Regions from separate parts of the Homo sapiens genome. Here all the other regions are linked to region 1. The links are contacts of gene promoters, found by promoter capture Hi-C in human tissues and cell types (Jung and others, 2019). All regions are on one chromosome and are shown on one strand. Each heading gives the region's core, a stretch centred on a gene start or on the middle of the fragment in contact. The rest is flanking DNA. Distances are from core to core; before and after follow the strand shown.

Region 1 (6,176 bases), core at 2,133-4,632:
ACTTATCAGAATCATGTCTCCAGGTGCCACGTGGCCCTGGTTTTCCATTAAGGCCTCGGTGTAAAGTTCTCCTTCAAGTAAGTCAAAAGTGAACTGCCATAAACAAGTGTGTCAGACGCCCACACCAAGCCAACCCCGTGAGGCCAGGACCTGGCCCTGGTCCCCCACAGGTGCACCTCACGTCTGTATCAGCTGACCTCTGCTCCCGGAGGCCAGGCCTGGCAGAGTGCACGTGGAAAGGCCATCTGCTGCTCAGGTGGGGTGGGGATGCAGCGCATGCAGAGGGCAGCTGAGCAGCCTTGTGGGGCGGGGTCGCCGTCCCATCTGCACTGGGCTGACAGTTGGACAATTGTGCCTCGCCACAGGGCCGGCTTGGGAGGGTGGCAGGGGGTCTGCAGAGGGTCTGGATTTGAGAAGTCTCCTCCAACCCTCCAGCAGGGGCTCAGAGCATCCCTCGATGTGGGGCCAGCTTTGGGGGTCCAGGGACCCCTAGGAAAATCTGCCCCAGGCTCTCAGCATTCAGTCTTCACGTATCAGAGACCACTCAGGCTGGAAGTGCTCCCTGAACCGCCCCCAACCTGACACACAGGCTTAGGAAAAAGGTGGCCTTCAGGGACCAGAGAGAGAGACCCTCCCCAGGCCACTTAGGCAAAGCCATCAGCATCATCTGGGGTCCCGTCTTGACACCTCTACACACTCATGTCTGTGACAAAGGAACATAGGTGATGGCAGGGAAGCCCTTAAGAGGCAGAGGCTGGTGGGCTTGCAATGGGGGCCGCAGGGAAGAGGGGGAAGGGTTAGGGGAACCTCGAGGTTTCCGGAGCTCCACGGCAGGGCACAGCTGGGAAGAAGATGGGACCAGCACCCTCCATTGGAGGCAGCCAGGACCCTAGAAGTTCTCAAAGGGCCAGGATGAAAACAGCCGGCCAGGCAGGAGGAAGCGCAGGCAGGGGCCACTGCCAGGCCGAGGCAGATCTGACGGTCGCCTGCCTCGGCCTCACCTTCCATGCCTCCTCAGGGCCTGTCAACAGCTGGGAAGATCAGTGCACAAAGGTTGGGCTCCATCACCAGGGACCCTGATGCCCAGAGAGGCCACGGGTAGAGCTGGACATACCTCAGACCGCACCCACTCCTCCCCACTGGGAGACCCATTTGGCCCTGGGACTCCCTGTCAAGTTCACTTTCCCACCTGTCAGCAGGTTTAGACAGGCGCACCGATCCCCAGACAACCAGAGCAACCAGATCGCCGCAGACAACGGGGAGCCATCAGGAGCTGAACTAAGCCCAGGGTCTGCGCCCACAGTCCATGGCCGCAGGAGTCAGATCCCCACCCACAGGACCCCCAGGGGCCCGGGAGCCCTGGGTACTTGGGCCCCCTGTTCTGAAAGGTGCCACCTCCAGAAGCGACCAGAACATTCCTTCCTTGGAGAGACAGCCAGAGTCTCCGCCAGCAAGGGGCTGCTGCTGGTCTTAACAGTCAGCCTCTGCTGCCAGCATACTCAACTTATGTGCCGTGAACGTAGCCCACTGACAGAGGCTTGGCCATCACGGCCCAGACCACCTCCAAGAGGAAAGATAGGGAACTTGGTCACCATCATAGAAACGCAGCCCCAAGCCAGGGGACGCCTAGACTCCAAGTGTCCAGACCCCAGCCCAGTCCCATACAGCTTGAGGCCTCTTCCCGGCATCTGAAGGAAGTCCCCGACCAGACAGGAGGGCCACGGGGAAGCAGAGAGAATCCCTGCCTTCAGGAGAAGGTTGTAACAGCCCCTGCAAATCCCCGGCCCCACTGTCCACAGTGACCAGCCCCACCCAGGCCCTGTCCTTCCAAGCACCAGAGAAGGCCAGAGACCCGCAATCAAAACACAAGCAAACGCCACCTATCATTCCGTGTTTAAACCAGCTCCTACTCTGGAAGGCTAACCAAGAATGTTCGTTATGTTTTTTAGAACGCCTGCTAGTTTAAAAAGAAGAAGAAGAAAGCATTGCACACCCTCCCACCCCTGTTCAGATGACCAAGTTCAGGGTTCCTAACAGCATAATTAGACCCTCCGGCTATCACTGCTGCAGGCCCAAACACCCGAGAAGCACTCTTTCTCATCTGTGTCCAGCAGAGATAACTGTACTATCTGGAATTATAAAAATCCACCAAAGCCCCTTCGGAAAGAAAGCAATTAGCAATTGCAACAAGCAGTGCACAGGTGGCACCCAGGCAAAGGCGGCCAGTGAGATGCAGCCTGGCTCCCAGGCCTGGACAGGGCAGGCAGGTGCACTGGGCCAGAGGCACCTCGGCTCTGCTGATTGAATCTGGGCTGTGCGGGGATCCTCGGGTCTCCGTAGGGGGAGGCCACCTCTTTACAGGGCGGCCAACAGGCGCCTCCAAGGACTTTATCCCACCTTCCCTCTGGATGCATTCTGGATTTCGGGGCCAGCTTAGTTGGCCTGTGTCCTGAGGCCAGGCAGGCCAGACTCCCCAGGACAGGAGTTTCCGATGGACAGGACCCTAGGGGGATGGCTTTCCTGCTGTAGCGGTGTTGGAAGGACCCACTCGGGAAAGGCTCCAGCGGCTGTCCAGGCTCTCTCTGAGACGCCTCGGGATTGCTCCGCTGGATCCGCACCCACAGCTGCTCCAAGGGGAAGTTGCACCTACAAAGCTTCTGGCACAGGAGACAATGGTCTGGAGATGTGCCAGGGGCCCGCCCCACGCGTGGCTGGCAGGGTTCACCCACCGGCTGGCCCGTCCCGAAGCAACACGTGCCTGGGCGCGAACGCCGGATCCACGCTTTCCTCCAGACCCGGGGGTGGGACTTGGCGCCCCAGGATGACGCGGAGGGCAGGCTGGGGGCCGGGACTCCCCACCCCATTCGCAGGCTGCGGCGGAAAGCGAGCGGCGGGAAACCCGCTGCACAGCAACGGTTCTGCCAGGCGCCCGGGCCACCGCGACCCCCGCGGAGACCCCGGCCCACGCCCCGCACCCTCCCCAGGGCCCCCCAGACCCCAGGCTGCAGACCGCAGACCCCGGCCACGCCCCGCACCCTCCCCAGGGCCCCCCAGACCCCAGGCTGCAGACCGCAGACCCCGGCCCACGCCCCGCACCCTCCCCAGGGCCCCGCGGACCCCAGGCTGCAGACCGCAGACCCCGGCCCACGCCCCGCACCCTCCCCAGGGCCCCGCGGACCCCAGCGCCAGCCCCCACACTCACCTCACAGGGCCCTGCAAACCTCGGCCCGCGCCCCGCACTCACCCCAGGGCCCCGAGACACCCCGCAGCCCCCGACACGCGGCCCCGTGGCCCCGTTCCCCACCGGTACCTGCGACTCGGCGGGGCGGCTGCCCTGGGGCTCCCGGACCCGGCCCCGCGCACGCGGACTCCGGGACTACAGCGCCCACAAGGCGGCGCGGCGGGCGCGCGGCTGCGGGGTGGGCGGGTCCGTCCCGCCGAACGCGTCCTGAGGGCGGGGCCTCGCGCGTGGCCGGGCGCTGCGGCAGGAGCGTCCCCACGGGGCACCCTCCCACCCACGGCCGTCTCCCAGCCCCGGCGCCGGCCTCTCCCCACCCGGTCACCGCCGGGGTCACGCGGCCCCTCGTGCTGCGGCCCTACCCCTGGGGCCGCCCCCTGACCCCGACCGCCCCTCGGGCCCCCACCCCCGCCGGCGTCAGCATCCTGGGGTGCCACTCGCGGAGGTGTCGGTCCCTCGGGCGGGCACCCTGCCATCCCTCTCCCCCGCGTTCTTCCCACCCCCGGTCCCCTCCTGACCCCCCCTCCTCGACGAGGCCTTGTGCGTTTTCCTTTTGGCACCCTGGAACACCTGCATTCCTGGCCGCAAGCTGGATCCGGGACGCGGGTCGGGCCCACGCGCCCTCAGGGGTGGCCCTGGGCCGCCTTCGTGGGGCTCCAACAGGGACACGCACAGCCTGCTCTTGGGGACCGCACGGCCCCGAACTCGGCGCCCCCGGGACCCCGCCGCCCGCCCTCCTGCCTGACCGTGACCCGTACGGGCTTGTACCAAGGAGCAAGCCGGATCCAGGACGTGGCCCGGGGCCACCAGTCCCCATCCCAGCAGGGACAGCCCGGGGGAGACCCGCGCAGGCCTCGCAGACGGCAGCGCAGTCACACTCAGGAAGGGGGGCCTGGGCCACTCTCCCAGGAAGGCGTGGGGCTGCGGCAGACAGCACCGCCGAAAGCCCAAGGCCTGTGCAGGACACGGGGAGAAGTGGGGGGCCTCAGGGTCACTTTCCCCTGGAGTTACCCAGGGCCTGGCTATGGGGAGGGAAGCCAAGCCGAGGGCTGTGGGGGCCCCAAGGCTAAGGAGGAGCCAGGAAGTCCACTGCACAGAACAGAAGGGGACGGCCACCGTGGTACCCACAGCTCAAGAGTGCGGGTCCCAGGCGAGGGGTGAGTCTGGGGCAGCAGCCCCTGGAATGTACCCCTTCCGGAGTGTAGACAGCACAATCCGCGACCTGCCTCCTGGTGTTGCGGGGGTGCTCTTGGTCTCCCGCCCACCAGCAGGGCAACCCCACCAGGAAGCCAACACAGGGCCCTTGCCCTAAATGGCCGCCTGCCCAAAGCTCTGGCCTGGGCCTTCTTTCCAGAGTCCTGAGTGTAGCAAGCCACACGAACAAATCTCAAAGGAACTTAAAAAGGATTTGTTGGCTGGAAATGGGGGATCTGGGGTAGCTTGCAGAATTTAAGGGAACACTACAGGATGGAGCGCCTCACCTGGAGGGACCCCCTGCTTTGTGGGAGCCCTGGCTCTCTCCCCTGTACTGGCCTTCTCCACGGGTGGGCAGAACCTGGCCCTGCTGGAAGACAGGAGGGGCAACGCGGAGGAGGAGGGGCCCTTCCTTCCCTCCAGGCAGAGAGGAGCCAGCCATGGGGCCAGCTCGCCAGGGCAGCCTGCTCCCTTTACACGCAGGACAGGCCAGGAAGCCGAGGGGAAGTGGGGATGAACAGCAGCGGGGCTCCTAGACCCCTTCCCACAGAAGGATGGCTCCCACCCCCTTCCCGCCTGGAGACAGCAAGGCAGGGAGCCACAGCCCCAAGGGGACCCCGCAGGACCCACAAAGACCAGTCCCTCACCTGTCTCTCCGGTCAGGTGTAGCCGAGCGAATCCGCCCCCGGCCGCGAGGGGCCTGCCCAAGCTGCCCTCGGGTCCCCCTGCGTGGCAGGAGTCCTGGGAGTTCCCCAGCCACACAAGGCCCAGGTTTCCTGCAGGAGCTGCTTCGGAGTGGGGAGGTAGGGCTTCTGCCACCAACAGCACTTGGCAGTTGTAATCTAGAGGCAGCTGCTCTGAGGGAAGAGCCAGGAGACTCGTGAAGAACTTACAGAAACCTCCATTGAGGACTGCGAGGAGTGGCCACAGACAGTGGGGCGTGGGCTTCCAGAGGGCTCCACCCAAAATAGAGATTTACAAACGCAGGTGACTTGGGAGTGACACTGGCATCTGGGAATGGATCCTGTGCTTGGGCCCTCACGAGCCTCCAGCGGTCCCCGTCCTTGCGTGTTTCATTATCGGTTTGTCAAATAGTTAAGTGCCTGAGCGTCAGGGATGGCAGGGAGAGCTGGTCCCTGGGAGAAGCCCTGGGTTGGAGGGATCAGCAGGGGCCCAGCAGTGTGGATCCCGGCCCTCCAGCCTGTAGGCTCCAGCCATATACAGTGATGTCTGGGGGCTGCAGGCCGCAGAGACCCCTTCCCCTCCTGGAGGGGCTCAGGTGGGCTCTGCAGCCCACCCCACAGCAGTGCCCCATCCCCAGCTCCTGGGCCCCCACTCCCCGGCAGCCTTAGCACCCATAGTCCAGGCCCAAGAAATCTCTGCCAGAGAATGAGGACCCTGCCCACCCACTGCCTTCTGAGACCAACCGGCCAGTCCTCTGCCTTGGCTGGAGAGACGCAGGGCTGTCCCTGTGGTTAAGGTCCCCGTCAGCATAGGGAGGCAGTGGCATTCGAGCAGCCCTTTCCCTCAGCTGGTGCTGTTGTGGTGGCTGTGGCTCTGGAAGCAAGGCTTGGACCAAATGCTAATACATGGACACACATGCACAGAGACACACAGATCCATGCAGACGTGCAGAGACGTGCACATGCAGATGGACACAGACATGCGCAGACACGCACACACACTGATGTGGTTTGGATTCTCTGTCCCCTCCAAATCTCATGTTGGAATGTGATTCCCAGTG
Region 2 (6,176 bases), core at 1,909-4,408, 340 kb after region 1:
TTTGAAGTAAGAGAAAATGAAAAAAAACCTATAGGATACTAGTAAATCAGTGCCTCTAGAGAAATTTATAGCATGACAGCATCCATTAGAAAAGAAGAAAGGTCTTCAAACAATAATGTAAGCTTCCACTTGAAGAAACTTTAAAAAAAGAAAACAAAACAAGCAGAAGGGAGTAAATAATCAAGACCCAAACCCAATGAAATTAAAAACAGAACTAAGCCTCTTCACATTGGAGTAGTTCAAATAAAGGAAGGACAGAAACAATCATGGGTTTCAAGAGCTTGCAAAACGGTGGCAGTTCTCTGCTGTCTGCGTTTGTTGTGTGGCGTGAGAGTCCATCCTGGTTTCGTGGCATTTTTCTCTGCATCCTTTTTATTGACAAGACGTTCCTGTCGTGAGTGGTTTTCCTCTGGCCTCTTCTGGGAGCTGGTGGATTTGCAAGTCACGGCCAGCCTTCGAAAGCAGGACTGTTGCCTGGTTCCCCAGTTGCCCTCCTGGAAAGCTCTACCCTGCTGGCCCTGGGCCTCGGAGGGGAGGGGAGCGCCTGGGGCGCCGCGGTCCTGACCCCACACAACTTCTTCTGCCATGGCCCAAACCCAGCCCTGTGCCGCCTCTGTGGGCCACAGGGACCCCCACAGCAGACCCCCAGCAAACCCTCAGTGACTGTCTGAATGAAAAACGCAGGAGTGGGTGGTGTGGGAGAAAATAGGATTACGGTGCTTCTGAGTATTGAGTTTAGAAATCGCTGAATTTCAGAACGTTCCACGAGGCCGTGGAAATTGAGCTGGGCTCAGTGCTCATGGTGTGAATCTGTCTAATCCTTAAATACATACTGCGCCCCCTTGTGGGCCAAGAGTGGTGCTGGGAACTGGGGATTCAGTGGTGAACGGAGGAGACACGTGTGCCCTCTGCCCTCTCGGTGCCAGGGTGGCCCCAGGTGACTGCAGCAGGGCCAGGAGAGACGGGGTTGTAGGTACAGCCTGGTAGGCAATACCCTCCAGAAGAAGGTCCTGATAAGTGGGTGGGAGAACTCACCCTGTCCCTGCCACGGAAGCCAGGGAGCCAGCGGGAGGGCAGGGAGCAGTGACAAACAAGACCAAGGGGGTAGGTGCTGGGCTCTGGACGGGAGGCTCAGGGCCGGGGTTAAACAGCACAGCAGTGGGAAGGTACCCAGGGGCTTCAGCACGGGGTGAGTCCAAGCTTAGAAGCTCACTGGCAGCGTCAGGCAGCTCATGCCCAGCCAAGTGCTCCTGAGTGGACATGCCTGGGCCAGCTGCGGGCCACAGCTGTGGCTGCTTTCCTGGCTGGCCTTCATCAAGCTGAGCGAGTTCCCCTCTATTCCTGTTTTTTTCTGAGCATTTTAATTTTTATCGTGAGTTGGTATGGAGTTTTGTGACAGGCTTTTCTGCATGCATTGATATGATTGTGTGCTTTCTTTAGTCTGTTAATAAGGTAGATTACACAGACAGATTTTCCAACTCTGAGCCAGCCTTGCATCACAGGAAGAATGGTTATAGCATGTAATTCTTGTGGTATATTGCTGAATTCTATGTGTTCATGTTTTTTGTGTGTGAAATTATTAAATCAAGCTAATTAACATATCCATCACCTCACATACCTTTGTTTGTGGTGAGGTTCGAGTGATCCTCCCACCTGTCTCCCAGGAGTTGAGACCACAGGTGCACTCCACCACACCCAACTAATTTTTTCAACATTTTGTAGAGATGGGGTCTATTTTGCCCAGGCTGGTCTTGAACTCCTAGACTCCAGTGACCTGCCTACCTCAGGCAACAGCCTAGGCAACATAGAGAGACCCCATCTCTATAAAGAATTTAAAATCACTCTCAGCAATTTTCAAGTATACATTGTTCTTACCCATAGTCACTGTGCCACACAGCAGCTCCCCAGCCTGTTTGACTCCCGTCTAACTGAACTTGTGCCAGTGACCAACAGCTCCCATTTCCCCCAACCCCCCGCAGTCCCCGACAGCCACCTCCCACCCTCTGCTTCTGTGAGATGCACTTTTTTAGATTCCACATGTGAGATCATGCAGTATTTGTCTTTCTGTGCCCAGTTCATTTTACTTGTTATAATGTCCTCCAGGTTCATCCGCAGTGACACAGATGACATGGCTTCTTTCTGTGTGTATGTCTGTGTGTGACATTTTCTTTATCCGTTCGTCTCTCTATGAACACTTAGGCTGATTCCACCATATCTAGGCTGTTGTGAGTTGTGCCACAATCAACACGGGCCTGCATGTGTCTCCTCACTATAGTGACTTTGGGTATATGCCCTGAAGTGAGACTGCTGGATCCTGTGGTGGTTCTATTTCTAGTTTTTTGAGGAACTTCCGTACCGTTCTCCATAATGACTGTACTAAGTTTCCCATCAGCACTGTACAAGGGTTCCCTTTTGTCCACCTCCTCACCAACACTTAGCTTTTGTCTTTTTGATAATAGCCATTCTAACAGGTATGAGCCGATATCCCATTGTGGTTTGAATTTGCATTTTTCTGGTGATTAGTGATGTTGTGCACTTTTTCATATACCTGTTAGCCATTTGTATGTCTCCTTCTGAGAAGCTTCCATTCCGTTTCTTTGCCATTTTTTTAAAATCTGGTATTTGTTTTCTTGCTATTGAGTTGTTTGAGTTCCTTACACATTTTGAGTATTAACTCCTTATCAGATGTTGTATGGTTTGCAGTTTTTTTTCCAGTTCCCTAGGTTGTCTCTTCACTCTGTTGTTTGCTGTGCAGAAGCTTTTCAGTTTGATATAATCCCATTTCTCTACTTTCTGCTTTTGTTGCCTGTACTTTGAGGGCCATATTTAAAAAAAAATCATTAACTAAACCAGTGTCGTGGAATTTTTCCCTGTGTTTTTTCTTAGTGGTTTTGCAGTTGCAGATCTTACATTTAAGTCTTTAACCCATTTTGAGTTGATTTTTATAGATGGTGTGAGATGAGGGTCTAATTTCATTCTTCTGCACAGGGACATCCAGTTTCCCCAACACCGTTTATTGAAGAAACTGTCCTTCCCCGTGTGTGTTCCTGGTGTCTTTATTGTAGATGGATTGGCTGCAGCTGCGGGGTTTCCTGCCAGGCTCTCCGCTCTCCTCCACCGGCCTGCATGTCGTTCTTACACCAGCGCCAAGTTCTGGTCTTTAGTATTTCATTCCTCTGCTTACTTGGATTTATTTTGTTCTTCTTTTATTAGATTCTTAAAATGAGTGCTTAGATTATTGATTGGAAGCTTTTCTCTCTTCAAATGTGTGTGTTTCGTGCCACAGGTTTCCCTCTCAGCACTGCTGTAGTTGTGTCCTGCGATTTTTGATATGCTGTGTTTTTATTTTCATTCAGGTCAATGTGTTTTTTGATGTTCCTTGAGATTCCCTCTTTGACCCTTGGATTGTTCATATATGTGTTTCATTTCCAAGTGCTTGGAACTTTTCTTGTTATCTTTCCATGATTGATTCTGGTTTGAGTCAGCTGTGGTCAGAGAACATACACTACGGTTTCAATTCTGTTAAATTTGCTGAGGTTTCTTTTATGGCCAAGGGTATGGTCTATCCTGGTATAGATTCTGTACATGCAGGAAGAGAGTGTGGATTCTGCTGATGCTGGACAGAGTGTTCCGGAAGTGTTCGTTAGGCCCCGTTGGTTGATGGTGTTGAGTCCTTCCAAATCCTTTGCTAATTCTCTGCCCAGTGGTTCTTTCAGTTGTTGACAGTAATAAAGTCTTCAGCTGTCGTTGTGGATTTTTATATTTTTCTTTTCACTACTATTAGTTTCTGCTTCACATATTTTACAGCTCTGTTATTTGATTCATACACATTTAGGATTGCTATTGCTTATTTAGACTCTTTTATCATTATGTAATGTCCTTCTCTGTCTCTGATCATTTTCATTGCTCTGACGTCTATTTTTTCCGATATTAATATAGCCATTCCTGCTTTCTTTTGATTAATGGTTGCACGATACGCCTTTTCCCATTAGTTTATCTTCAGTTTGCTTATATTGTTCTATTTGAAGTGAGTTTTCTGTAGACAGCATATGATGGGGTCATATTTTTAAATCCACTCTGCCCATCTGTGCTTCAATTGGTGTATTTGGACCATTTATACTTAAAGTTATTACGGTATTGAGATGTTAGGGCTTAAATCTGCCATTTCACCTTTTATTTATCTTTTGTATTTATTTATTTTGAGATAGGGCCCTACTCTGTCATCCAGGCTGGAGTGCAGTAGTGTGATCATGGCTCACTGCAGCCTCTTCTGGGCTGAAGTGATCCCCCCACCCCAGCCTCTCAAGCAGCTGGGACCACAGGCATGCACCACCATGCCCAGCCAATTTATTTTTATATTTTGTAGAGACTAGGTATTCCTGTGTTGCCCAGGCTGGCCTTGAACTCCTGGGCTCAAGTGATCCTCCCACCTTGACCGCCCAAAGTGCTGGGATTACAGGCGTGAGCCATCGCACCCAGCCTCATTTTTAATTTTGTTGGCTTTGTTTTTTGTTTCTCTGGTTTTAGTTTTTTCTTTCTTCCTGTGAGTCAGTGTACATTTTTTTGGAATTTTATTTTATCAGTAGCATTTTAGAGTATATATCTGTATGGCTTTCTTTTTTAGTGCTTGCTGTAGGTAGTATATCATATATATACACACATACTGAATACTAAGTATATAGCATATATATACACACACAAATATATATATGTAGCACATGTATATACACATGTATACATACACATATATAACATACACATATGCAACATGCATGCACATCTAAATATACATATATGTCACGTGTGTGTGCATGTATAATGTTTGAGACAGGATCTTGCTCTGTTGCCCAGGCTGGAGTGCAGTGACACGATCATGGCTCACTGCAGCCTCGACTAACCAGGCTCCAGCCGTCCTCCCACCTCAGCCTCCCCAGTAGCTGGGACCACAGACAGGCACCACCACACCCAGCTAATTTTTTAAATTTTTTTGTAGAGACAGGGTTTTGCCATGTTGCCCAGGCATATATGTGTTACCAATTCTACTGCTGTCAACATTTCACCAGTTGGAGGGAAGAAACTGTAACTTCCTTTATAATTTTTTTACTGTCCCTCATTTATGATGTAGTTGCTTTAAATATTTCCTAAGCATTCTGTACATATCAGACAATGCTGTAATTTTTGCATCAGTCATCAATCATAGTTTAGAGGACTCGAGAGTGAAGCCTTTCTATGCACTCACATGTTTGCCTACTATGTTCTTTCTTCCTTCCTGATATTCCAAGATTTCATCATTATTTCATTTCTGTTTAGAGGACTTAGGCCTTCTCCCAGCGTAGGCACGCTGGCAGCAACTTCTCTTCATTTTCCTTCATCCCATAATGTCTTTATTCCTGATTATTTTCACTGGATATATCATTCCAGTTGGCACTTCTGTCCTTTTCAGCACTGAGCAGTTCGGGGCCACGTCCTCCTGGCCTCCGTGCTTCTCGCCTGAAATCCACGCCATCCATTGTCTCCCTCCTGTAGCATGGGGTCATGTCCCTCTTGCTGCTTGCAAGAATTATTCTTTGCCTTTGGTTTTTAGACTCTTGACTACAATGTGTGTTTGTGTGGATTTCCTTGGATTTATCCTGTTTGGGGTTTACTCAGCTTCTCAAATATGTAGGTTTTTACTTTTTGCCAAATTTGGGAAGTTTTAGCCATTATTTTTTCAAGAGCCTTTATCCCCATCCCCTTTGTTCTCTTTTTCTGGTACCCTAAGGACATGAATGTTAGGTCCTCCCCATGTCCCACAGGTCTCAGGGGCCCCATCTGTGTGTCTTCGGTCTGTGTTCTCCCTCTTGTTGGGACGGGGTACTTTCTGTTGTTTTTTCTCACAGCTCCCTGCTTCTCTCCCCTGACTCTTTCACTCTGTTATGGTTCTTTCTAGTTCTGTCGTTCCCTTTCAGTTGCCTGCATCTCCCATTAGCTTGGTGGGAACTGGCTTCTCTGTGGAGGTATTCTATTCTGTTTTCTCATTTGTTTAAAGAGTGTTCCTGCTTGTTTGCTGAAGCATTTTTATGAAGGCTGCTTTCACTTCTTTGTCAGAGGATTCCGACAGCTCTGTCATCCTGGGGCTGACACTGTCTTTCATTCAGTTTGAGATCTTTTGGGTTCTTTGTATAACAGGTGATTTT
Region 3 (6,176 bases), core at 2,143-4,642, 310 kb after region 1:
TTACAGGTGCCCGCCACCACCCTGGCTAATTTTTTGTATTTTGGTAGAGATGGGGGTTTCACCATGTTGCCCAGGCTGGCCTCAAACTCCTGACCTTAAGTGATCCTCCCGTCTTGGCCTCCCAAAGTGCTGGGATTACAGGCATGAGCCACCACATCCAACCTCAAATGTGCCTTTTTTTTCCAAGTCTCTCCTCTAAGACCATGCTGAAATTGAAGAAATTAGATGAAATTTGTTCACTATCAGTGAAATTAGAAAACCAGCAATGTATTTAAATTAATATATAATTTAATAAATATTGTTTTAAAATCAGTGTAGATATAAGGAAATACGTAAGTAAGTGCAATTTTATCAAAACATTTCATGTAGACGTCTCACTTGTGAAGTGGAAGCCTGCCTTTGGGTTGAGTCACCTCATTTGGGGTGTTGGGGGGAAGAGCCCCAGGGGGGAGCGCTTGCTGGCACTCTGTCTCCACACTCACACTGTGCCTTGTACTCGAATGCTGAAGAGGTGTTGACTGCTGTGTTGAAGGCAAGAGGCAGTTCCGTTGAAGCCCAGTGCTGGCGGAGAGGCCCTGCACTGGTGCGCTCACACAGCCCTGTGTTTTTGTGTTTTAGGTCGGTAGGCTCCACGACAAAAGTCAACCCTTCTGTAAATCACCTGCTGTGGTTATGATGCTCTGAGTTCAATACGTCTGAACCTTTGCTGTCTATGGATCTGCTCTAAACCTTATAGCCTGCTTATGGGGGAAGGTGAGTTACTGTCTTTTGTTTCCATGTTTGTTTGTTTACCAAGAGTGTATATAACAAAGTCAGACTTACCCTTGACAAATGAAATCTGTTTGAAGTGACACAGTGCTGTATTTCACCCTGCTTCAGTCCACAATGTGCCCTGAAGACTATTCTGTATATGACTTTGGGAAATTGGGGATCCCTGCTTTTGATAGCAGTGAGCTGGTTGTGGTTGAACACCTTTGGGTCCAGTGCCAGGCCAGGTGGTTCTCGCACAGCCTTCCAGCTCTCCCCTGGAGCCAGCCCCGAGAAGCCAAGGAGGCACAGGTTTCAGGAATGAAGGACAAGAAGGCTGTGCTGGGGGCTGAAGATCGTCCTGAGGTGTTTGGAAAGAGTAGGTAATGAGAGCATCAGGAGTGGGGGTGCTGTTTTGGTGGTCTGGTGATACCCTGCAGACATTAGTGCCGTGGCTTGAGCTGCTACCATGAACTTCTGTTGATACAATTGCAAGGAACGTTGGATGAATGAGCAGTTGTGTTTGGAGCTTTTAACATATCCCTTCAAGAAGTAGGTCACCAAAAAATAAACGGGAGTATTAATATCTTAAGCAATATAATAAATAAGTTTGAGCTGTTAGGTATATTTTGAACTCTACATGTTACTTTCTAAGCATACAGAGAGCATGTACAGTACTAGGATGTGTACAGGTGAAGTCTGTCTGTAACATAGGGATGTATGTGTACAGGTGAAATCTGTCTATAACACAGCATGTGGAGAGCATAAGGCAATTATACTGGAAATTAATAGTAAAGGAATAGCTTACATAAATAATATGCTATAAAAAACTCTTGTTAGAAATAAAATCATAAAAGAAATAAAAGAACTTTAGGGCTGAGTGATTATGAGGCAGTATATGTCCAAATTAGCATGACACAGCTAAAGCAGTGCTTAGAAGGACATTTGTAGCTATAAACACGTGTTAAGAAACATGAAAAATTAACTCAAGAGGCTGAAAAAAGAGCAAGAGAGAAAGCCCAAGGATCCATAAGGCAGAAATCAGTGAAATAGAGAGCACAGAAAAACAGAAAATTCACAGCCCTGAAAGCTGTTTTGTGTTTTAGAGTCAATAGTTAGATCTTTGGTTAAAGAAAGTGGAAGGGCCGGGCGTGGTGGCTCACGCCTGTAATCCCAGCACTTTGGGAGGCCGAGGTGGGTAGATCAAGAGGTCAGGAGTTTGAGACCAGCCTGGCCAACATGGTGAAACCCTGTCTCTACTAAAATACAAAAATTAGCCAGGTGTGGTGGTGTGTGCCTTTAATCCCAGCTACTCGGGAGGCTGAGGCAGGAGAATTGCTTGAACCCGGGAGGAGAAGGTTGTAGTGAGCCAAGATTGTGCCCTTGCACTCCAGCCTGGGCCATGGAGTGAGATTGTCTTAAAAAAAAGAAAGAAAGTGAAGGGATGATACTGGTGACAGTCGATGGAACAGAATATAGAAAGGAGTGAATGAGTGAATAAATAAATAAAAATAAATATAGATGGATGGATAGATAGATAGATAGATAGATAGGTAAAGAAATAACCATAGATACAGCCAAGAAGAAAAGTTGAGTACTGTGGGAAACCATATGCTAACACATTTGAAAACATAGGTGAAATTGATAACTTCCTGGGAAAATAGGAAGTGCCAAAATAGACTTGAGAAGAAATAGAGAACTTGGATAAGCCAATAATACTAAAGAAATTTAAGTGACAATCAAAGACTTCCATTCAAAAAAAGTTCTCAGACACATTTTTATGGGTGAATTATACCTAACTTTAAGGAACACTTGATTTCTAACTTACACAGATTGTTTCAGAAAATAGATAATAAAGCTCCCCAGCCCTGAGGCTAGGAAGAAGAGAGGCTGGTCCACAGGTACAAAGTTAAAGTTAGACAGGAGGAGTAAATTCTGGTGTTCTGTTAACAATAGGGTGACTATAGCTAATAATAATATGTCTGTCCAGATAGCTGGAAGACAGGATTTTGAATGTTATCACAAAATCATAAATGTTTACAGTGATGGATATGCTAATTTCCCTGGTTTGATCATTAAATAATGTATACGTGTATTGCAACATCATACTGTATCCTGTAAATATGTACAACTATTATGCGTCAATTATAAATAAAGCTTAAAAAAAGCTGACGGCTTCGAAGGTCGAGGCAAGGAACGTGGCCTGGAAAAGACAAGGGAAAATTTCCCCAAAGCCTTCAGAAGGAACACAGCCCTGCAGCCACCCTGACTTTTGTTCAGAAGGAACACAGCCCTGTAGCCACCCTGACTTTTGTTCAGAAGGAACACAGCCCTGCAGCCACCCTGACTTCTGTTCGGAAGGAACACAGCCCTGTAGCCACCCTGACTTTTGTTCAGAAGGAACACAGCCCTGTAGCCACCCTGACTTTTGTTCAGAAGGAACACAGCCCTGCAGCCACCCTGACTTTTGTTCAGAAGGAACACAGCCCTGCAGCCATGCTGATTTTTGTTCAGAAGGAACACAGCCCTGCGGCCACCCTGACTTCTGTTCGGAAGGAACACAGCCCTGCAGCCATGCTGATTTTTGTTCAGAAGGAACACAGCCCTGCAGCCACACTGATTTTTGTTCAGAAGGAACACAGCCCTGCAGCCACCGTGACTTTTGTTCAGAAGGAACACAGCCCTGTAAACACCGTGACTTGTCTAGTGAGATCTGATTCAGACCTCTGACTTCTGGAAATAGAAGATAATAAATTTGTGATGTAATTTGTAACATCAGCAATAGTAAACTAATACAGTAACTTTTATAGAAAAATGGGTGAAGGATCGGAAAGACAGTTTACAGAAGAAGAAGTACAAAAGGCTGGTGAAGAGATGTGCAAACTCACTTCTTGTCTGAGAGATGCAGAGTGACATGGCGTGTACACTTCCCACAGCTGAGACCAGCAGGAGCGGGCAGTGGACTCGCACCAGGCATTGGGAGCAGATGCGGAAAGTGCACATGCCGCTGGCCAGAGGGGGTGGGCTGGCATGTCTTCTCTGGAGCCTGCTGTGACCTGGCATGCTGTCCTGCATCTCTGTGGTGACAAAATCTCCACGGGTTCATGGAGACAGATGCACACAGCATCTCCTTGTTGTGCTCCGTGGATGTCGGGGTGGAAGGTGACCTCAGTGCCCCTGCCTAGAAGAGTGAAAACCTAACTGTGGCAGAAGCCAGATGCCGTGGGTTGGGTGTGCCAATGGCCCTTAAAGGCAGGGCTGGCGTTACTGGTGGAGGGTGTCCAGGTTCTTGGCGTTTTGAAAAAATAATTGGACAAAACACACAAACAAAGCAAGGAAAGAATGAAGCAGTGAGAGCAGAGATTTACTGAAAATGAGAGCACAGTCCACAGGGTGGGAGCAGCCCGAGCAAGCAGCTCACGGGCCCCAGCGACAGAATTTTCTGGGGTTTCAATACCCTCTGCAGGTTTCCATTGGTTACTTGGTGTACACCCCTGTGAATGGAGAGGGTGTTCCTGTCATGGCTGAAGTGTTTGCATTTGATTTAGTTCTAGGAAGACCTTAGGTTTCTTCCCTGCAGGCCCTCTTCTCCTGCCTCACTGGGTTAAAAAGCTAAGAAACATGAGTGGTGTTAAACCATTCTGCCTGTGTGAGTACAGACGCGTGCATAGGAAATTAAATACACACATACTTTGCAAGAGCATATGTGAGTAAGAGTCAGGCACTCGGTGTTTTAGAATGGGCTCCTGCGTGGTGGCAGTGGCAGGTGGTGGTGATAAGGGCCGGTGAGAATAAAAAGGAGCCGATGGTACGGGGCAGGAGCCGCTCCCAGGAAGCGGTGGTGCCGACGTGTCATAAACTGATATCCGCATCTCAGCCTCTGTGCACGAGGCTAGGAAGAGAAGAGATTTCCAAAAAGGTAAGAGTGGGGCGGGGGGGACAAAAACGCAAAGAAACACAAAGAGCAGCATCCGTGTGAAGTTGGGCCTGGGAGAGAGATGGAAGGGGTGGGATGAGGCCTCTACGTTTCACAGCTCAGTAACCTGGGCCCTGAGAGGCTGTGCGGTTTGTTCCATGCAAGGGCCAGCCTGGACTTGCAGGCTCAAATACGACTCCTCCTGCCCTGCATGTGTGTCAGCTACCACACATGCTTTTTTAAAATTTATTTTTGTTTTTATTTTTAGTTGTTGTAAAATGTACATAACATAGAATTTTCCATCTTAACTATTTTTTAGCATACAGTTCAGGGATATGCTGGGCAGCCATCACCACCATTATCTCCAGAACTTTCTCAACTTTTTGAACTGAATCTCTGTCCCCATTAAACCCTCCCTCCCCCAGCCTCTGGCACCCAGGATCCTACTCTCTGTCTCTAGGAATCTGACTGCTCTAGGGACCGCTACACGTGGAATTATATGGCATTTGTCTGTTTGTATCTGGCTTCTTTCTTTTAGTCTGCTGTCTTCAGGGTTCATCTACACTGTGGCATGTGTGAGAATGTCCTTCCTTTTGAAAGCTGACCGATATCCTGTTGTATGTAAAGACTGCAGCCATCAGTGGACAGGAAGGCTTCACCCGTTTGGCTGTTAGGAGCGGTGCCCTTGTGTGTGCCTATCTCAAGTGTTTTATTCTTTGTGATGCTATTGTAAATAGAAGTGTTTTCTTAATTTCCCTCTTGGATTGTTCACTGTGAGGAGAAGATGCTCTTTGATGAGACTGAAATGAAGCTGGGTGTGGGCTCTGGGTGGGTGGAGCAAGCACTCCGAGCCTCTGCCCCGCGGAATGCAGTGGTCTGAGAAGTAAGTAGCAGGAGTGCTGGAGGAAATGGAAACTTACGATCTCTCCTGCCTGAGTTCACAGCAGGCTGAAACCCAGAAGATGGCAGAAAGCTGACAGAGAGCTCCAGGAGGAGCCTCTCGGAACAGCTCGAAGAGCAGGAAAGGGGACCCTAGGCAGCCTTATGGCGACAATAGTGGTGCCAGGAATGGCCAAGGGGGTCCGCAGGGGCCCCCAGGCTCCACCACGGAGGGAGGGAGCCTTCCTCTCCAAGTCTGGCAGCGATGCCCAAGTGCCTTCTCTCTCTCTGCGCTTTCCCACAGCTGATCCTGGAGGAGTGCACCTGGGAAGCCAGTGCACAGAGCTGGAGCTTCCCGACTGCAGGAGGGAAAAGAGGAATCCTGGGATCTGGGAGGCACAGGGAGGCCAGCACAGACGCAGGCTCCGGAAGCCCACGGAGAGGGCTGGGCATTCTCCCACACTCATCCCCAGCTTCACATACACACATCCGCCCTCAAACAGCCCATCACAGACCTTGAGAACCGCACCATGGGGTGGACTGCTGCCCAGTTCCCAGACCCCACACCCCACCAGCACAGAGGGGGGCATGCGTGGGAAGGCCTGGAGAGCCCTGCAAAGACCGAAACAACCAA
Region 4 (6,176 bases), core at 2,612-5,111, 270 kb before region 1:
CGCGTGTGCACAGTGCTAACCACGGGGAAGATCATTCCCTCTACTTTCATTTTCCATTTAACTCAAACCGTTTCACCCTAACCCCAGCCTTCATCTCCTATGCAGATGGGCAGGCAGGTCTTTGGAGGAACAGAGGCCCAGGCGTACCTCCCACAGCAACCCCAGAGGAATGACTGCACGCAGGGCCCACGCTCCCGGCCTCTGGGACGCTCACGGCAGCCCCACGAGAATGATCACACGAGGGCCCACGCTCCCGGCCTCGGGGACGCTCACGGCAGCCCCACAAGAACGATCACACGAGGGCCCATGCTCCCAGCCTTGGGGACGCTCATGGCAGCCCCACGAGAATGATCACACGAGGGCCCACGCTCCCGGCCTCGGGGACGCTCACGGATGCTCAACAACACAGCAACAAGGACATGCCCAAGTCCAGGGCACGGGCAACTCTCAGGGCAGGGGGCAGACAGGGGCAGAAACCGGGAATGATGGGAAAATGCGACACAAGAAGAGGTTCTGAGACGAGGCCAGCTATGCCAACAGCCTGCTATGGAGGAATTCTGTGCATGAGAACTAAAGGGGCAAGATGAACAATTAACTTCAGCCCAGGGAAACACTGAACCAGATGCTACAGGAGACTCAGACGAGGAGGCAAACAGTATGGAAATGACCACTGTGAACACAGGCGACCATCTGCTCTGACACCGAGTACTTGGGACAGAAGAACCTTTGAAAGCCACCCGACCCGCTCTCGGCCGACAGTGACGTGGGCAGGCACCTGGCGTGTGCGCAGATCCACTGGTCAATAATCGCAACGCCTCCGTCCTTGTAGAGCTCCAGCTCCTCCCACGTGGGTTCAAACCTCACCATCTCGGGTAACAGCTTTTTTAGCTCTTCATATTCTGCAAAGTAGAAGGAGAGACCCTTTGAACCGGGATCCTCCAGTAAGGACAGATACGTGACTCTTTAGCAGACAGACATGCGTACTTGGCTTCTGGTTAATTCGTTAGGAACTGGCTCCAAAGGTGCAGACACACAACTCAGCTTTACCCTCCCAGGAATTACAGTTGAAGATCATGCAGATCTTCATGGATCTGGGTAGTTCCAGGTCTACCCAGAACAGAACCAGGGATCAAGAAGAAAGGAAAGAAACGTGCTCCCTCTCCCTCTCCTTCTCCCTCTCCCTCTCCCCACGGTCTCCCTCTCTTTCCACGGTCTCCCTCTCATGCGGAGCCAAAGCTGGACTGTGCTGCTGCCATCTCGGCTCACTGCAACCTCCCTGCCTGGTTCTCCTGCCTCAGCCTGCCGAGTGCCTGCGATTGCAGGCACGCGCCACCACGCCTGACTGGTTTTGGTGGAGACGGGGTTTCGCTGTGTTGGCCGGGCCGGTCTCCAGCCCCTAACCGCGAGTGATCCGCCAGCCTCGGCCTCCCGAGGTGCTGGGATTGCAGACGGAGTCTCGTTCACTCAGTGCTCGATGGTGCCCAGGCTGGAGTGCAGTGGCGTGATCTCGGCTCGCTACAACCTACACCTCCCAGCCGCCTGCCTTGGCCTCCCAAAGTGCCAAGATTGCAGCCTCTGCCCGGCCGCCACCCCATCTGGGAAGTGAGGAGTGTCTCTGCCTGGCCGCCCATCGTCTGGGATGTGAGGAGCCCCTCTGCCTGGCTGCCCAGTCTGGAAAGTGAGGAGCATCTCCGCCCGGCCGCCATCCCATCTAGGAAGTGAGGAGCACCTCTTTCCGGCCGCCATCACATCTAGGAAGTGAGGAGCGTCTCTGCCCAGCCGCCCATCGTCTGAGATGTGGGGAGCGCCTCTGCCCCGCCGCCCCATCTGGGATGTGAGGAGCGCCTCTGCCTGGCCACGACCCCGTCTGGGAGGTGAGGAGCGTCTCTGCCCGGCCGCCCCGTCTGAGAAGTGAGGAGCCTCTCCGCCCGGCAGCCACCCCATCTGGGAAGTGAGGAGCGTCTCCGCCCGGCAGCCACCCCGTCCGGGAGGGAGGTGGGGGGGTCAGCCCTCCGCCCGGCCAGCCGCCCCGTCCGGGAGGGAGGTGGGGGGGTCAGCACCCCGGGCGGCCAGCCGCCCCGTCCGGGAGGGAGGTGGGGGGGTCAGCCCCCCGCCTGGCCAGCCGCCCCGTCCGGGAGGTGAGGGGCGCCTCTGCCCGGCCGCCCCTACTGGGAAGCAAAGAGCCCCTCTGCCCGGCCAGCCGCCCCGTCTGGGAGGGAGGTGGGGGGGTCAGCCCCCCGCCTGGCCAGCCGCCCCGTCCGGGAGGTGAGGGGCGCCTCTGCCCGGCCGCCCCTACTGGGAAGTGAAGAGCCCCTCTGCCCGGCCAGCCGCCCCGTCTGGGAGGGAGGTGGGGGGGTCAGCCCCCCGCCCGGCCAGCCGCCCCGTCCGGGAGGTGAGGGGCGCCTCTGCCCGGCCGCCCCTACTGGGAAGTGAAGAGCCCCTCTGCCCGGCCACCACCCCGTCTGGGAGGGGTACCCAACAGCTCATTGAGAACAGGCCAGGATGACAATGGCGGCTTTGTGGAATAGAAAGGCGGGAAAGGTGGGGAAAAGATTGAGAAATCGGATGGTTGCCGTGTCTGTGTAGAAAGAAGTAGACATGGGAGACTTTTCATTTTGTTCTGCACTAAGAAAAATTCTTCTGCCTTGGGATCCTGTTGATCTGTGACCTTACCCCCAACCCTGTGCTCTCTGAAACATGTGCTGTGTCCACTCAGGGTTAAATGGATTAAGGGCGGTACAAGATGTGCTTTGTTAAACAGACGCTTGAAGGCAGCATGCTCGTTAAGAGTCATCACCAATCCCTAATCTCAAGTAATCAGGGACACAAACACTGCGGAAGGCCGCAGGGTCCTCTGCCTAGGAAAACCAGAGACCTTTGTTCACTTGTTTATCTGCTGACCTTCCCTCCACTATTGTTCCATGACCCTGCCAAAATCCCCGTCTGTGAGAAACACCCAAGAATTATCAATAAAAAAAATAAATTAAAAGAAAGGAAAGAAACGAAAGCATTGAAGCTCCATACCCTTTCTGACGGCATCTGTGGCCACAAACACCTTGTCCAGCCGGTGGGTCTTCATGAGGCTGCGGATCTTCCTCACGGCCCCTTCCAGACTGGGTACATCCTGTCTGTGACCCCAGATGAAATCTTTTCTTCTCAGGTGGACTCCCAGGTAGGGGCCCCCTAGCGCGGAGCCCAGCTTGACCTAGCAAAGAACCACAAGGAAATGCAGAAGCTGACAGGCGGGCTCGGGGCTCATCCTGGGCACCGGGTGGGACTCGAGACGCAGAGGGATGACCCTTTCCATGTGGCCTCCTCCACGGGGTGGCTCCAGGGCTGTCTAAGGGATTCAGGTGGAATCTCGGGGGCGACCAGATGTCTTTCTAAGAAGACAGTGAAGCAGTATTAATTACCAGAAATCATTTTATCTGAGGTAAAGAAAAATATTTAAAAAGAGAACAGCATGTGGAGGCTCACGCTGTGAACTTTTCCTCCGAGAACCACCGCAGGGACGTGCCACAAAGAGTTCACGGATCCTGTGGACAAAGCAGCTCACAGCTGCAAACTCCCCGGGAGCCAGAATGCTCTGCTGCCCTCTTGACAGTGCCACCTCCTGGCTGGAGGCCACCAACGCAAATGGCTACAGCAAATTCTAACCAACAACCCTGCTCCAAGGAAGGAGAAAGCAACAGCTAATCCCACCACCTGCAACCTCCTGGCTGTCCACAGGTCCCGAGTCTGTCCACGTGACAACTTCACTGCAGCATAACCAGCATTCGAGAAAGCCAGTGCACTCAACAAAACTACAACCAAGGACCCCCCCAGAGTCCACTTCACTCCCCCGCCACCTCCAGCAGAGCAGGTGCTGGAACCCATGGCTGGGAGACCCGAAGACGGATCACAGCACAGGACTCTCCGCAGACATTCCCCAGCAGCATCCCAGGGCCTGGTAGCCCCACTGGGTGGCTAGACCCAGAAGAGCAATAACAATCACTGCAGCCCAGCTCTCAGGGAGCCCCATCCCTAGGGGAAGGCGAAGAGCGCCACAGAGCACCCCGTGGGATAAAAGAATCTGAACAGTAGCCCGTGAGTTCCAGATCTTTCCACTGAAGTAGTCTGCCCAAATGAGAAGCAGGCAGAAAAGCAATTGTGATAATATGACAAAACAAGGTTCTATAGTACCCCCAAAAGATCATAGTAGCTCCCCAGCAATGGATCCAAACCAGGAAGAAATCTCTCAATTGCCAGATAAAGAATTCCGAAGGTTCATTATTAAGCTACTCAAGGACATACCAGACAAAGGTGAAAACCAACTTAAAGAAATTAAAAAAAAAACAACAACAACAATATGGATGAAAAATGCTCCAGATAACTAGGTATCTTAAAGGAAAAACAATTGCAACTTCTGGAAATGAAAGACACACTTAAAGAAACGAAATACACTGGAAAGTTTCAATAATAGACTAGAACAGGAGAAGAAAGAGCTTCAGAGCTCGAAGACAAGGTTTTCAAATTAGCCCAATCCAACAAACAAGAAAAAAGAATAGTAAAAAAAATGAACAAAGCCTCCAAGAAATTTGGAATTATGTTAAACAACCAAACCTAAGGATAATTGGTGTTCCTGAGGAAGAAGAGTAATCTAAAAGTTTGGAAAACTTATTTGAGGGAATAATTGAGGAAAACTTACCTGGTCTTGCTAGAGATCTAGACATCCAAATACAGGAAGCTCAAAGAATACCTGGGCAATTCATCACAAAAAGATCATCTCCTAGGCACACAGTCATCAGGTTATCTAAAGTCAAGATGAAGGAAAGAATCTTAAGAGCTGTGAGCCAAAAGCACCAGGTAACCTATAAAGGAAAACCTATCAGATTCACAGCAGATTTCTCAGCAGAAACCTACAAGCTACAAGGGACTGGGGTCCTATCTTCAGCCTCCACAAACAAAGTAATTATCAGCCAAGAATTTTATATCCAGCAAAACTAAGCTTCATAAATGAAGGAGAGATCATCTTTTTCAGACAAACAAATGCTGAGAGAATTCACCACTCCCAAAGCCAGCTCTACAAGAAATGTTAAAGAAGTTCTAAATCTTGAAACAAAACCTCAAAATACGCCAAAATAGAACCTTCTTAAAGCATAAATCTCACAGGGCATATAAAACAACGCAATGAAAAAGAAAGAAAACAGAGTATTCAGGCAGCAACTAGTATGATGAATAGAATACAGTACCTCACACCTCAATACCAAAGTTGAATGTAAATGGCTTAGAGACTCCACTTAAGAGAAACAGAATGGCAGAATGGAAAAAAATCCACCTGAAAGCTGTGAGGCAAAAGTCTTCAAGAGACTGACCTAACACATAAGGACTCACACAAACTTAAGGTAAAGGGGTGGAAAAAGATACTCCATGCAAATGGACACCAAAAGCGAGTACAGTAGTATTCTTATATCAGACAAAACAGACTTTAAAGCAACAACAGTTAAAAAAGATGGAGGAACATTATATAATGATAAAAGGATCAGTCCAACGGGAGAATGCCACAATCCTAATTATACATGCACCTAACACTGGAGCTACCAAATTTATAAAACAATTACTACTAGACCTAAAAAATGAGATAGACAGCAATACAACATAAGTGGGGACTTCAATACTCCACTGACAGCACTGGACAGGTCATCAAGACAGAAAGCCAACAAAGAAACAATAGACTCAAACTATACCCTGGAACAAGTGGACTAAAATATTTACAGAACATTCTACGCAACAGCTGCAGAATATACATTCTGTTCGTAAGCATATGGAACGTTATCCAAGATAAACCATATGATTGGCCACAAAACAAGCCTCAATAAATTTAAGAAAATCAAAATTATGTCAAGTACCCTCTCAGACCACAGTGGAGTAAAACTGGAAATTAAATCCAAAAGGAACCCTCAAAACTATACAAACACATGGAAATTAAATAATCTGCTCCTGATCTTTGGGTCAACAATGAAATTAAGATGGAAATTTAAAAATTCTTTGAACTGAACAATAACACTGACATAACTTATCAAAACCCCTGGGACACAGCAAAAGTGGTGCCAAGAGGAAAATTCACAGCATTAAATGCTTACATCAAAAAATCTGAAAGAGCACAGACAATCTAAGGTCATACCTCAAGGAATGAG
Region 5 (6,176 bases), core at 2,566-5,065, 260 kb after region 1:
TAATCTTCCTCTGTACCTAATTTATACATTAAAATTTATCATAGGACAGTTTATAACAGGGTTTGGTATAGTCCATGGTTCCAGGTAGCCACTGAGAGTCTTGGAACGTACCCCTCTTGGATAAGGGGGGAGGGCTGCAGAATGAATTCTTCAGCCTTCTCCTCAGAACAGATCTTCTGCAAGACTTTGGCAGATGATGCTGTGACCCCGGTGTCACAGGCCAGGTGGACGGCCAGGCCAAGGTATCCGTGCCTGGTCCTGAGGGGCCAGGCACGCGTCCACGGCAGGGCCACCCAGAGCCTGGGGTGCTGGGAACTGGGCTTTGTTTTAGTTTCTCAAATGCTTTTCTCAAACTGGAATTTTAATTACAACAAAATTAATGCCGCAGAATATGATTAAAAAATAATGAGCTGAGAACAAGCAGCCTCTTGAGGTGATGTCCCTGTGGCTGAGCCCAGGAGGCCTTGATGCGGGCAGAGGCTGTGCTAGCTTCACCAGGTTGGCACCGGGCTCTCCAATGCCTGGTTGCTGGTGGCTTGGACAGCTGTCGGGGAGGGTCCTCTCAGCTCCCGCGCCCTCTGCCCACAGCTTGTTCTCTCACTGTGAGAACCACCCAGTGATGGTTCTTGTGCTGTTCTCTCTTCATGAATCATGGCCTGGCTTCCGTGCAGCTGCCTTTTTGGAGGAGGCTGCAGGAGCACAGAGTAATGGCTGCAGGTGGGGCCTTCCAGAGGCACAGGCTGAGGGGCCAGGCAGCAGTTCCTCTCTTGCAGCTTTTTCTTGGGAGCACCGGGCCAAGCCAGAGGCTCCTGGCAGATCCACCCACAGAGACAGCAGGTCCAGGTCAGGGCTACCCCTCGCACAGCCCAGCAGGATGTGGGAGCAAGCCTGTGCGCCCTGAGCCAGGCCTTCTGTGAAGTGCAGATGATGTCGCCTTTGTAGACAAAGGAAGAGACCTTGGAACCTGAGGGTAAATGGAGAGGCTCTTTACCAGCACTGAACTCTGAGCCCAACTGGCTCCAAACAGGCGTGTTGTGGGCGTGTCCTGAGGTGTGTGCCTGACCTGACCCTGAGGCCCCCTCCCTGCCATGCCTCTAACCCACCCAACACCACCAGCCTTGCTGGTGCCTCCTGCCCTGCCCTCTGCTCTCAGCTGCCTGCCCTGGTCACCTGCCACCCCTTCGTGCTGGGCCCTTGGGCCAAGCACCGCATGCAGCCTGGTGCACACCTGTGCCCTCCTGAGCCTGGGTGAGGTGGCCCTCCCACCTGGGCCATGTGCCTCACTATGCCTAGGCCACAGCCCGGGAGGGAGGATGTCTTTCCCTGACCTCGTTTGTGTGGCCCTGGTGCCCAATGACTGACTTTCCTTCTGCTCCCAGCCCTGCATCCTCCTGGGAGATGGGGTGTTTGAGCATGGGGTTCCCGCCTCCTCCTCCAAGTGACTTTCCTTCTGCTCCCAGCCCTGCATCCTCCCAGGAGATGGGGTGCCTGAGCATGGGGTTCCCGCCTCCTCCAGGACTTGTTGCCCGTTCTGCGTGGCCACCCGTTCTTGCCAGCATGCCCACTCGCTCTGACCTTGGAACGTGCTCTGCTATGGCCACTCTCCAACTCTGGCAATGGCACCAGCCATCATTCTATCACCTGTGACTTCCCCACTCACCCGTCCTGTCGTGCCACCTGCAGCACCCACAGCCTGGCTCTCACTGCCACTGCGTCCTGTGGGAGAAGGTCACATCCACTTCCCTGTGTGGATGGGGGTGTCATGAGGACCCTGGAGTGTTCTGATGGCCAGCCTTGTGGGGACCCTGGCTGCTAGCCTTGCCTTAGCTGCTCCTCTGTCCCCACTCACAGCCCCGGTGGCCAGTCTGTCTGAGTCCTGCCCTTGTCTACCCACCTCCTACAAGACAGCCAGTGTCTGGGCTGGCCCCTCCCTGCTGGCTGCAGGGCCCCTGGGTGCACAAGGAGCTGCAGAGGAGCAGATGGCGGCAGCTGAGGCAGCCACAGGGACAGGGCCACAGACACACTCAGGTTCCATGGCCTTGGTACATTTGCTCTTCTTGACATGGGTTTCAGAGAGGGGCCACCATGCCATGCCCACAGCGTCTGGCCAGGTGCTGGTCACTGACCCATCTTCACAGCATCTGGCCAGGTGCTGGTCACTGACCCGCCTTCACAGCCGCACTTGTTGTGACATACTTGATTCAGTAGATCCTCCTGGATGCACTCTGCTTATATGCCTTTTGCTCATTTTCTGCCTTTAGCTGCAGTATTCTTTGGAAGGAATTCTGGGCAGTATGTGCTGTTCAGATCCTGTCACTGCATTTGCTAATTTGTTGCATTAGCAAGTATTTGGCTTGTGCATGCAAGACAAGGTTAAATAATCCAGTGTGGAAATAGAAAAACAGTATGTGGAGATCCAAACCCATATAATTACTCCCCATGATCTACTCAGTTTAATCAGATTCTGCAGGTTAATCATGTTTGTGATCTCATGGTGCACATCCCTCCCGAACATCTCAGCGTCATCAGTGGAGCCGCTCGGTTGTCCTGTGACACTGACTGTCCCTCTGTGGCTCTCGGGGTCTCCCCTCCTCTTCCTTGAGGGCATCGTCATGATTCAGCAGTGACTTCTGGGCTGGGTGGTTAGCGGGGCTCCCTCCTTTACCCTCAGACCCCTTGGATGCCATCCTGGGCAGAGGCCTTGGCCCAGTGCAAGCTCTTTCTGCCCACATTCTCCTGGTAGCGGCTCTGCAGCTGGGCGCTGTTTCTGCCCTGTCATGCAAGTGGGCTGGGTGCAGAGGCTCACAGCTGGGTGCTGGGGCTGGGGGTGAGCTAGCTGTCCGGCCCCTGCGTCAGCACCACCCCTTGCTGTGTTCCTGAAGCGTCCTGTCTTCCATGGTCAGGATGCTCTTTCAAGACAGCCCTGATGGCATCACCTCCCTTCACTCGCCTCTTCTTAGCTTGTTCATTAAAAACAATTGTACTTACTGAGTGCCTACGTTGTCCTGTGCCCGGGCTGCCCAAGGTGGTGTGAGTGTCAGGGCACGTGGCCCAGAGGGCTCTGCAGAGACGGCTCTGAGAGCAAAAGTGAGCCATGCTGGAGAAGGGACAGGAGCCCCTGGGAGACGTAAGAGATGGGGACAGGCTGACGGAGGAGGAGGACCGGGCTGGGGGAGGATGGTGGGGCTCTAAGCAGGGCAGGAGGTCAGATTGTGTGTTTGGGATGTTCCTCTCCTTCATGGGGAGGAGAGGCCCTGAGGGAGGCAGGAGCAGGAGGGGCATCGTGTCCCCAAGGACCCCAGGCAGGGCCTCCAGGGCTGGTGCTGGGAGGAGGCAGGGATGGGAAGGGTCCCCGAGGGCCCTGAGCAGGGCTAACCCTAGGGAAACCACACACAGGCCACGGAGGGAAAAGCTTTTAACCCTTGTCGTGTATAAACGACTCACTAGGTCTTGGTGCATTTTTCATTGATACTCATATATTTACTGTTGAATCTCTTTGAGTTCTTTTTAATGATTTTTCTTGTTTTCAATAAAAAATAACATTTCCCGTCTGCATTGTACAGTCATAATTTGAAAACAAAAATTGTTTTGTTGTGCAAACACTTGTTCTGATTCTTTATCTATTCGTTGGAAGTCAGTCACAAAGCAACTTGAGAAAACAGCCTGTCTCTGCCTCCAGCCTGGTGTGCCTGCAGCTGTGTGGGTGCGTCCCCTCCTCACTTTCTCAGCAGAGGCAGAGGCTACAGTCTGAGTGGCAGAGCCCACCTTTCTGCTGGGGGTAGTGGCCATGCAAGGGTATTGGTGTGTTTTTTGCACATGCAGCTGGCCATGCTTTAAAATAAGCAGATTGACCTTTGTTTACCTTTCACCCCCAGAATGGTTTGGTCAATGACAGCAGCCATTTTTATTGTTTTTATTGTTTCTTTTCTGTGGTGGTGAAGGTGGCATCCCCTCCTAGCAGCTGCACACTGGGGTGGTCCTGAGGAAAGGAGGGCGAGAGCAGAGCTTGGGGGCGGGCCATGAGGGGAAGTCCAGGCCTCTCCACCCAAGGATGACCCTTTCTCCAAGAATCCTGCAGTCTGTTGTTAGGTCGGGAAAAAGCCGTGGTGGTTTTATACTGCCAGTGCCGGGAGCTTTCCCATGAAGTTTAAATGCAAACAGGACACTGAGGGCAGGAAGGTGTGCTGAGCTGCCCTGCACAGTGCTTGGCTCTGATGCCCACCCCAGGGTCCCTGGGCACTGCCAAGCTGGGCATGAACCTGGGGTAACCCAGAGGAACCTGGAGCAGTATGGGCTCCAAGAGGCCCCTGAGCTTCTCCAGGACCCAGATGGTGACAGCCTGGAACATGGCTTCCCCGTGGCCTCGCTGCCATAGTCAGGCCTCGGGAGGTGACCCTGTGCCAGGGCACCGGATGGCCCAGGTCCTGCTGGGGTGGGCTGCTGAGTCCCTTCCCATGAATGTTGTTACTGTGCTGTATCTCACTTGTGCCCTCGCTGAGATGAAGGACGCCTAGACCTTAGTGCAGGTGCCTTGGGGGCGTCCTGGCACTGAACATCCTTGAGACATCTGTGGTGCTTCTCTTCCTCATCTGTGGTGTTGTGGGCCTCCAGGGGAGGTGGCTGTCTGCCTGGAACAGGAGGCCCAGCCCACAGGTGCCCACTGCCTGCTGCCGCGCCTCCCTCTCTGCTGCCCGCGTGGCTGTAGTGTTTTTTACCCCATTGCTGTTTCGCTTGGCACCTACACGTTGGTTCCCTCCTGTGCACCGGGCTTTGTGCTGCAGGCTCTGGCGTGTTCACAGTACTCCTTTGGAGGGATTCTGTTTTTAGAATTAGTGGTACAATATCTTGTCATCTTGGTAACTTATTATTAATAAAAATGGTATAAAATGTTTTGCCTCCTAGTGCCCACACCATCCATGTAGATTATATTGATTTACTCCAGCTATTTGAAAGGCTTTGAGGTGGTGTACAATATCAAACCATGTGAAACAGCACGATTAACTGGCAAAACCAAAAGCCATGGAAATGAGCCGGGGAGCTTACTGAAGATCCTAGTCTTGGGGGAGATGTTTGGTGAAAATGTGTGCATTTGCTTATGAAAGACTTGTATTTATTCTGCACCCCCCTGACCCTGAGTGTCCCTTGGTCCATTGCCTGGGCTCTGTTGTCCTTACCAGGACTGCTGCTTCCCCAGTCCCTGCTGTCCTGCTGATGTGTCCACGCACCAGGCATTCGGCTCCTGAAATCACAGTGACTTTCAGGAGTCACTTGGGTTGTAGTGTTGGCCAGTTTTAGCCACATGAAGATAGTTTCTGAAACCTCCTGTGTGTGAATGACGGTTTTCACCTTGGGCCTGTCCTTCTGCTGCCACCACAAGCAGGAGGGGTGGGAAGGAAGGATTGCCCCCGAGAGAGGCAGCACAGGAAGGCCAGGCCGTGTTCCTGGGAGTCAGGCTTACCAGCTCAGAGCTGGGCATGGTTGAAATTCTAACCCTGCCGTGGCAGGCCCTGTGCTTTTGTGAAATGGGCCTCACGGGAGGGTGTCAGTGACGTAGATAAAGGCTTCCCACTGCCTGGATGCTGTGACCGCCTGATCCCGTGGTGATGGCACAGCCCTGCTGTGGGGAGAGCCGTGCAGCCCCAGGCCGTGTGTGGGAAGGCCTGTGCCACTCTGGGCATCGTCATCTTGGGCCATGGCTACCACATATGGCGCTTCCTAGCCGGGCACTATGCCACAGCCACACCCCTGTGGCCTGGCCCCCATGGCAGGGTCTAAGGCTGTTCCCCGGAAGCCTACCTTCTATAGGAAGAGGCATTCTTGTGTGACTCTCTGGTCATTTGCTTGGGGGAGCTGAAAACCCCCCAGGTGGTGTCTGGGGGGGAAAGTAATTGGAAGATTATGGGTGGGTGTGACTGGTAACAAGCAGGGGTTTGGCACCCCCCTTGCCCACCTGCCCTGTGTGCTGGGCCGTGCGGAGGTGGCCATGGGCAGCCCTTCCTTCTGGAGCCCCCTGTCTTCCCTTATCCACTGCCTCAAGGTTCCCACCAGCAGAGTGGGGCCACCTGGGTTGGTGCCAACGAGGTGCTCAGAGGCCTTGTGGGCAGTGTGGCAGAACGGCACATACAGGTGCCTAAAATCGAGCTAGGGGACCTTGAAGATAATGCTTCCTGTCTGCT

Evidence for each region. The method cuts DNA at HindIII sites, captures the fragments that hold promoters and counts their contacts. A contact is called where the count stands out against the background at its distance.
Region 2: a fragment that was not itself captured here is called in contact with the fragment with the promoter of SLC19A1 in region 1 in 6 of the 25 tissues and cell types used here (H1 embryonic stem cells, IMR-90 fibroblasts, aorta and 3 more).
Region 3: a fragment that was not itself captured here is called in contact with the fragment with the promoter of SLC19A1 in region 1 in 5 of the 25 tissues and cell types used here (H1 embryonic stem cells, IMR-90 fibroblasts, aorta and 2 more).
Region 4: a contact is called between a fragment that was not itself captured here and the fragment with the promoter of SLC19A1 in region 1, in 1 of the 25 tissues and cell types used here (mesendoderm cells).
Region 5: a contact is called between a fragment that was not itself captured here and the fragment with the promoter of SLC19A1 in region 1, in 1 of the 25 tissues and cell types used here (dorsolateral prefrontal cortex).

Annotation. Positions count from the first base shown.
Region 1 is chr21:45,539,058-45,545,233 of GRCh38, forward strand. SLC19A1 (solute carrier family 19 member 1) reads right to left here and starts at 3,383. Exons shown (of 6, transcript NM_194255.4): 1 at 3,311-3,383. RefSeq lists silencers at 2,817-2,876, 3,227-3,536, 3,577-3,656 and an enhancer at 3,511-4,023. The HindIII fragment of the contact is 13,138 bases long and covers 1-6,176 here.
Region 2 is chr21:45,879,755-45,885,930 of GRCh38, forward strand. The region is part of intron 5 of PCBP3 (poly(rC) binding protein 3); the gene reads left to right. Among named protein-coding and RNA genes, the nearest start is that of PCBP3-AS1, 46 kb to the left of the region's middle. RefSeq lists an enhancer at 821-1,625. The HindIII fragment of the contact is 4,995 bases long and covers 662-5,656 here.
Region 3 is chr21:45,849,343-45,855,518 of GRCh38, forward strand. PCBP3 (poly(rC) binding protein 3) reads left to right here. Exons shown (of 18, transcript NM_001384156.1): 5 at 619-753. The coding sequence starts at 744. Among named protein-coding and RNA genes, the nearest start is that of PCBP3-AS1, 16 kb to the left of the region's middle. RefSeq lists enhancers at 5,288-5,964, 5,965-6,176. The HindIII fragment of the contact is 8,241 bases long and covers 1-6,176 here.
Region 4 is chr21:45,266,815-45,272,990 of GRCh38, forward strand. It overlaps POFUT2 (protein O-fucosyltransferase 2), which reads right to left. Exons shown (of 9, transcript NM_133635.6): 7 at 3,025-3,205; 8 at 776-899. Among named protein-coding and RNA genes, the nearest start is that of POFUT2, 18 kb to the right of the region's middle. The HindIII fragment of the contact is 5,405 bases long and covers 1,160-6,176 here.
Region 5 is chr21:45,799,445-45,805,620 of GRCh38, forward strand. The region is part of intron 4 of PCBP3 (poly(rC) binding protein 3); the gene reads left to right. Among named protein-coding and RNA genes, the nearest start is that of PCBP3-AS1, 34 kb to the right of the region's middle. The HindIII fragment of the contact is 9,548 bases long and covers 1-6,176 here.